2 separate regions of the Homo sapiens genome follow, and region 2 is linked to region 1. Evidence: promoter capture Hi-C in human tissues and cell types (Jung and others, 2019). All regions are on one chromosome and are shown on one strand. Each heading gives the region's core, a stretch centred on a gene start or on the middle of the fragment in contact. The rest is flanking DNA. Distances are from core to core; before and after follow the strand shown.

The links. The method cuts DNA at HindIII sites, captures the fragments that hold promoters and counts their contacts. A contact is called where the count stands out against the background at its distance.
Region 2: a fragment that was not itself captured here is called in contact with the fragment with the promoter of PGRMC1 in region 1 in 1 of the 25 tissues and cell types used here (aorta).

The regions. Positions count from the first base shown.
Region 1 is chrX:119,234,261-119,238,065 of GRCh38, reverse strand. PGRMC1 (progesterone receptor membrane component 1) reads right to left here and starts at 1,781. Exons shown (of 3, transcript NM_006667.5): 1 at 1,375-1,781. The coding sequence starts at 1,702. It also overlaps the pseudogene NUDT19P6. RefSeq lists silencers at 1,169-1,318, 1,719-1,978, 2,009-2,058. The HindIII fragment of the contact is 12,683 bases long and covers 1-3,805 here.
Region 2 is chrX:119,380,691-119,384,495 of GRCh38, reverse strand. No RefSeq gene overlaps it. Among named protein-coding and RNA genes, the nearest start is that of SLC25A43, 17 kb to the left of the region's middle. The HindIII fragment of the contact is 3,028 bases long and covers 315-3,342 here.

The DNA of each region.
Region 1 (3,805 bases), core at 532-3,031:
ATGAGCACCGTCCATGTGGACATCCTCTAAGCTCCCTGTGTTTAGAGGAGTCCATATTGGAGGAGCCAAAACCTCTTCTTCCTCATCTCCAAGTATTCTATAAAGCAGGACTTTGCAAGCCTGGCTGCTTTTCAAATTCGCCTGGGAAGCATATTAAAATACAGACTCCCGGACCACCCGAGACTCATTTGCAGCTCTGGCGGTTAGACTGGGAATCTGTATTTTTCCTCAGATGCATCAGGTGATTCTGATACGCAACCAGGTTTGCAAAAACCTCGCCTCTAAGGAACCCATCAGGCCTGCCTTCTCCAACAGCTCAGCAGTGCAGCAGTCATCCATTCTTCATTTCCCTCTGGTTGGCTTTTCCTGATATCCCCCCACCCAGCAGTCTTCTTAGCTCTACTCCTTTTGTTTCTTGGTATCCTCCCACTTCTCCCTCCCTCCATTTTAATTTTTCTTGGCTTCTAATCCTTTCTCTCCTGCTATAGACTAAATACCATATTACCTTAAAAGCTTGCCACGTTACCATTGTCCACCATATTCAGCCTTTATTCCTCCCTCAAACAGCCCCCTTCCTCCTTGTTCACCTTCCAGCCTTTCCCCATCTGCCACACACAGCACAAGCGCACACAGACCAAACACATGCCACACACATACCTGACGCATGACCCATTTCAAGCGCGCATGCACACACCACACACACACACCCCTGATAAATCACATACACTAAACACGCACACACCGCGCATGCACACACCACGAGTGCACACACACATCACTATCCACCGGGCACAAAGCTTTTACCTGCTGCTAATCCCGTCTCGGCGTTTTCTCCCACACCCTCATATTTCAAACCTACTCCCGGTGTCATTGGCCTTCCCGTCTTCTCTAGGTCTGGACCTTTTCTCACTCTCGCCCTCCCCCATGCCTCCCTCGGAACACCCTCATTTCCTTCCTAGAACCCGACACTACCCCCTCCTCCTTCCAGGAATCCCCAAGCCCAGGACCTTCGAAAACTACCCCAACAGCCTGGGCTTTGATGTGTCCCCCCTCAACGCCTTCGAGCTTCGTGGTCCCACCCACCCCCGGCTTAAGCGCCTCAGCCTTCTTTCTCTAACCCCCTCCCAGCGCTGTCAGCGCGGGCCGGGGATCCGCGTCCCTGACTGGCCCGCAGCCCCTCTAGAGCGCCTCTTGTTCCCTGCCCGCCCCGGGAGCCTCCCGGCTCTCCGCCTGCCCGCCTACCCGCCTACCCTAGCTCGCCGCCATTCCTCCCTCCACTCAGGGGCGCCCCGCTCCCGCCTCGCCTCTCTCCCGCCCAGCCCCGTGCCGGGGCCCCCTTCTTTTGTCTCCAAGCCCCCCTCGCCGGCCGCGTACCGGGCCCGTAGAATTTGCGGCCTTTGGTCACATCGAACACCTTGCCGTTGATGGCCATGAGTATGCGCGGGTCCTGGACGCCGTCGAAGCGCCGCAGCTCGGCGGGGGTGAAGTCGCGCCGCTTGAGGCGGGGCAGAGGGGGCGGCTCGTCGTCGTCGCTGTCGCCGCTGGCCGCCGGCTGGTCCCCGCGCACGATCTTGTAGAGCAGGAAGATGCAGAGGCCAAGCAGCAGCAGGTTGAGCGGCGACGTGAAAATCTCATGCAGCAGCCCGCCGCTCTCCAGATCGCTTGGGTCGGCGCCAGTCGCCACCACATCCTCGGCAGCCATGATCTCTGGAGTAAAGGTTGGGCCGCGCTAGGCAGGGATCCGGAACTCGCCACTTTCTCCTCCCTCTGAGCGAGCGAGTGGCGCGCGGGGTTCGGCGGCGGCCAAAGACTAGCCGGGGAGGAGGCGGGGCCTGAGGGGCGGAGCCTCCAAGCCCCGCCTCCCCCGAGGCCACCTAAGCGCCCCGCCCTGCTCGGTCCCGCCCCGCAGCCCTCAGGCCCCCTCCAAAGCCTCTAGAGTCCGGCGCCGCTCCCCCGCGGCCGCGCGGTGCCCCCCTCAGTTCTACCTGGGAGGCCCCAGCCCAGCCTCACGCCATCCTCGCGCCATCCTATAGCTGAGCGCGACGCACGCGCTGCCCTCCTCTGAACCCCTTTTTTGCTCCTCGCAGACCGACCCGTTGGGAGGGCCTCGGCATTGCCGGGCTCTGTGCGAGCGCCCCTCCGCCACCTGATGCGCGCCAGACACCGACTCCCTTTCTGTTGCTGCAGGCTTTTCCCTGCCTCCCATTCTGAAGCCCCTCATCTTCCCCCTGCCGTTCCCGGGCCCTCCAAGCTGTCTTAGGAGACAGGAAACTCATTCTTCGAACTCCATTTTCTATGTTAGAGCCCTACACGACTCATTTTCACCTTGGGAACCCCCATTCGCTCTCCTTGATGGCCCTTCCCCAATTCTCCCCCAGATGCTGTGGGACCGACACCCCCGGGATTGCTAAAGTCAGTGCACAACTCTCCCTATTATCTGGGGAAACGAATCTGATCGCCCAGTTAACTTTGGGTTTGTTCTCCGAAAAACCCTTTTGCAATTACTGATTTGCTCAGTCACCAGGCATTAACAAGCAACGTTCTCTTGTTGCTCTTTTTTCCCCCCTCAGAATAATGTGAAAGTTTCTTTGTTTGGCAGCGTTCTTCTATTTGGAGTCTGTCAGGCTACCCTTGGCAGTCACAATAACCCTGAGCTGGAGCCCAGACAAAGGCGGGAGTTTGGAAGGATCCTAGGCCTGGTCCCTTCCTTTCCTAGGTATTTCATCCGGCCTTTGATGTGCTAACAGGCTGCACAGAAGCAGACCTCCACGGAGGAAGGGGTTGCCTCGTCCTAATCTGGCCCTTTTTCTGGTGGCGGGGGGAGGGGAGGAGAAGAAAGGATAGAGAGGGAAACAAATAATTAAAACCAAGCCGTGCACACATCTGCAGCCCAGAGCAGTACTTTTCCACCAAGTGTTCTGTTGGCTTGCACATAACTTACTCCTCCTCCCAACACGCAAGAGACTTGAGTAAAGATTGGCTTCCTACCTCAGAATTCTAAAAATTTCTGGCAAAAACTGCTTCCATCCCTGCCCCCCACATCTTCTTAAATCATTATAAAGTGCAATGAGCCAAACAATCTTTGTATCGGGCCCAGGCATTTTTCTCAGAGCTAAATTTGGGATTAGCTGAAACAGCCCCTCCAAATCTTTTGTCAAAACTCTTCAATTTAATCATGGAGAAACAGGCTCAAACTGAGGGCACTTGTCTATAGTTAGAATCTATCTCTTTTAACATGTATGGCCAAGAAAATTTAGAAAGCTAATAAACTTATAAAATATTTTCATTTGCAACTAATATGACAAAGGGTTAATATTTATTTGAGAGATCATTTGGATTGATAAGAAAATGTATAAGATTCTAGTCAATAAATGGGAAAAAATAGGAACAGGTAGTTCACAAAAGAGAGCATGCCAGTGGTGAATAAGCATATGAAAAATGTTCAGTCTCATTAGTAACAAAAAGAAAAGCATGGAGATGCCGCTGTCACCTACTACTTTTCTACAGGAAAGATAAAAGGGAAAAAAAAAAGGATAACACACTATTGGCGAGAGAGTGGTGAGACTCACATACGCTGTTGGGTATAACCTTTTATTATCCATAAAAATATTTTCTATCCATTAATCCCACTTCTAGAAATCTGCTCTTTGACCTAGTAATTCCATTTTCAGGAATCCATCCCAAGGAGACAGAAACGCAGACAAATATTTCATTACTAAGATGCTCAGCAGAGATTCATTTTTAATACAGAAAAACTGGAAACAACCTAAATGTCCGACTTCAAATAAAATGGCGAATTAATTCA
Region 2 (3,805 bases), core at 579-3,078, 150 kb before region 1:
CTGGGATTACAGGGACCCGCCACCATGCCCAGCTAATTTTTGTATTTTTCATAGAGACAGGGTTTTACCATGTTGGCCAGACTAGTCTCGAACTCCTGACCTCAGGTGATCTGTCCGCCTCGGCCTCCCAAAGTAGTGGGATTACAGGCGTGAGCCACCATGCCCGGCTCTTTTATCCAGTTTCTATGTAGCAGAAACACAGATAAATTTTAAGTTTTGCACTTGAGCAAATGGGTGGATGGTGATGTAATTAATTGAGATAGAGAAGAAATTTAAGCTTATTGATGACTTTATGTGAATAACTTAGACTGAAGGTGATGTGTCAGGATAAACTATAAAGAGTGTGAAAGCTTAGGTAAATCCAACGTTAGAGCTTGTTTCATGTTTTCAAGCTGTTATATCAAAAGCAAAGTCTATTATGCCAGAGACTATCCACCAATATCCACATGCTCCCTTACATTTCCAAGCTTTCTTTTTGCCTAAATGGGACCATGTGGTTTTGTTTTGGCAAGGGAACATGTGTAGGATTGATAACTGCCACTTCTAGGCCTAAACCATGTAATACCCTTCATGATTTTTCATGCTATTAATAAATCTCTTTGCTCTTGTACAGCAGGAAGCAAAGGACTCTGAAATGGTGGAACACGATGCAAGGAACCTGTATCCTTGGGTTTACCCCTCAGAGGAAAACCACCCTGGAGAGTTGCTCATACAGGAACCATCTCATAGGACTTTGTGTGAGTGAAAAATCAACCTTTGGTTAAGCCACTGAAATTTCAGGGTTTCTTCGTTACCACAGCAGATTCTAGTCTACCTGACTGTCTCAGTCTGTTTGTGTCGGTATGCAGAAATATCTGGCTGGGCGCAGTGGCTCATGTCTGTAATCCCAGAACTTTGGGAGGCCAAGGCAGGCAGATCACTTGAGGCCAGGAGTTCGAGACCAGCCTGGCCAGCATAGTGAAACTTCATCTCTACTAAAAATACAAAAAATTAGCAAGGTATGGTGGTGTGTGCCTGTAGTCCCAGCTACTTGGGAGTCTGAGGCACGAGAATCGCCTGAGCCCAGGAGGCAGAGGTTGCAGTGAGCCAAGATCGTGCCACTGCACTCCAGCCTGGGTGACAGAGCCAGACTCTGTCTCAAAAACAAAAACAAAAACAAAAACAAACAAACAAAAAGACCAGCCTGGCCAATGTGGCAAAACCCCATCTCTACTAAAAATACAAAAAATTGGCTGGATGTGGTAGTGCACACCTGTAGTTTCAGCTACTCGGGAGACTGAGGCACAAGAATTGCTTGAGTCTGGGAGGCAGTGGTTGCAGTGAGTTGAGATTGTGCCACTGCACTCCAGCCTGGGTCACAGAGTGAGACGCTGTCTAAAAAAAAAAAAAAAGAAAGAAAGAAAAAGAAATATCTGAGCTAATAAAGAAAAGAGGTTTGTTTGGCTCATGGTTCCACGGGCTGGAATGTTGGGCATCTTGGTAAAAGCCTCAGGGTGCTTCCACTCATGGTAGAAGGCAAAGGGGAGCCAGTGTATGCAGAGATCACATGGCAAGAGAGGAAGCAAGGGAGAGAAGGGGGAGGTACTAGGCTCTTTTTAACAACCAGCTCTCATGAGAAGTAATAGAGTGAGAACTCACTCACCACTTCCCTCCCTAGGGCATTAATCTATTCATGAGAGATTTGCCCCATTACCCAAACATCTCCTAATAGGCCCCATCTCCAACACTGGGGATCAAATTTCCACATGAGTTTTGGGGGAACAAACATCCAAACAATAGCACTAACTAACACAGCTACACACTGTTGACCACAAGAAAGCCCTCTCTACCTGAGCTACACATGAAGGTTATGAGAAGCACTTAATGCTTGCCAGTTATGTTAAAGTTTTTTTTTTCCAGCTTTGTTATGAGGTTAGGGTAATGACCATAAATAACTACTTTTGCTCAAGGAAGTCACTGACTTCCCTAAGGAAAATTCATCACTTGACTGAGTTTCAAGAAAAATCTTGTATCTTTCTGGAACAAAAACCCTTAATCTGAATGATCATAAGCATGATTAAGATTAACTTTACGCAGCCCAAATGTATGCTTGTATGACAAGCTTCATCAGTGTTCTATCCTTCCAGATAAACCGAATGCAGTGATTGTAAAAACTGTAGCTACAGCACACATGCCTTTTTTTTTTTTTTTTTGAGACTGAGTGTCACACTCTGTCCCCCAGGCTGGAGTGCAGTGGCACGATCTCGGCTCACTGCAACCTCTGCCTCCCGGGTTCATGCCATTCTCCTGCCTCAGCCTTCCGAGTAGCTGGGACTACAGGCGCGTGCCACCACACCCGGCTAATTTTTTGTGTTTTTAGTAGAGACGGGATTTCACCATGTTAGCCAGGATGGTCTCGATCTCCTGACCTCGTGATCTGCCTGCCTCGGCCTCCCAAAGTGCTGGGATTACAGGTGTGAGCCACTGCAACTGGCAGCACACATGCCTTGATGGAGATTGTGAGGCTGTGGTATTAAATGGTTTTCATTATCTGATTTTCCTAGTTATGAATTAAACTGAAGAACTTGCTGAAAACATTTTGATCATAATGAAGAGACTCTTGAAATGCTTGATTAAGTGTATTCTGAAGAATTTCCCCAAAGTGGATGGCAGTGGTGTGTGGCTAATTGTGTCTATTTGGGTCCTCTAGGAAGCAGATGCTAATACGGAGTTAGGAATGCAGGATGTTGATTGTGGCTAATACCTGTGAAAGATAAAAGGGCAGAGAGCAAGATTGGGCAGGAAAGGCATTCAAACTACAATGCATATCTGACACATGTGAAAGGATAAGGGGTGGAAACAGAATTTGGCAGAGTTGCCTTAGACTTTGAGGCAAATATGACAAAGTCTTGGTCTCAACCCAGTGGGGAGTTCTGGAGGAAAGACTGCCTCTTAAAAGAGTCTCACATTGGGCAGAAGTGGCCAGGCCCTAGAACTGCCACCTTGCTTAGTTATTGACTGGAGGCTGCCCAGGGAAAGCATGGTTTTGTCAAGAATACTGCAGCCAGTCTTGGAAGGTCCTGCAACCTGAGGCTGTAAGCTAACTTCACTCCTCATAGTTCCATGGCAAAGTCTTTCTTGATGGGAGCTCTGAGCTATGCAGCTCCATGCTTGCCACAGTCCATCCTTTGTGTTGCTTGGATTAACTTCAGAGTTCTTGTTCAGAGTTCCTGTGAACCTCTCTTCCTGAGGGAAGACTTAGAAGAGGAGGTTAGTGGGAAGAGCAATAGCTCATCTTGCTGCAGTTGGTCTCAGGGCTGCCACTAGGTTTCATTTTCTTCCTTCTCCACAATCCATTCTATATTTGTACTGATTTTCTGCCTGCTTAATCTATCCATTGCTGACAGAGGGGTGTTGAAATCTCCAATGATAATAGTAGATGTGTCTAGTTATTCTTACAGTTCTATCAATTTTTGTCTCATTTATTTTGATGCTTTGTTGTTAGGGCATACACGTTTTAAGATTGTATTGTTTTCTTGAGACTTGACCCCCATAATGCCCCATTTTATTTTATTTCTTTTTCAGAATTGTAAAATTTTATTTTCTATATGTCAACATTCTTAATAATACAGCTTGATCAAAAAAAATTCTGACCATAAGCATGTTGATTATTTCCCTTTGGAACTGGTGAAGTCAGAAAAATAAAATATTTATTTTGAATATATAGCATCCAAAAGATTCACTTAATGTGGCCTTATTTGTTTATATTCAAAGGCTTTCTTCCCTCAAAATAAAGGTTCTAAGGTAAATTCAAGATTCTTTTGAA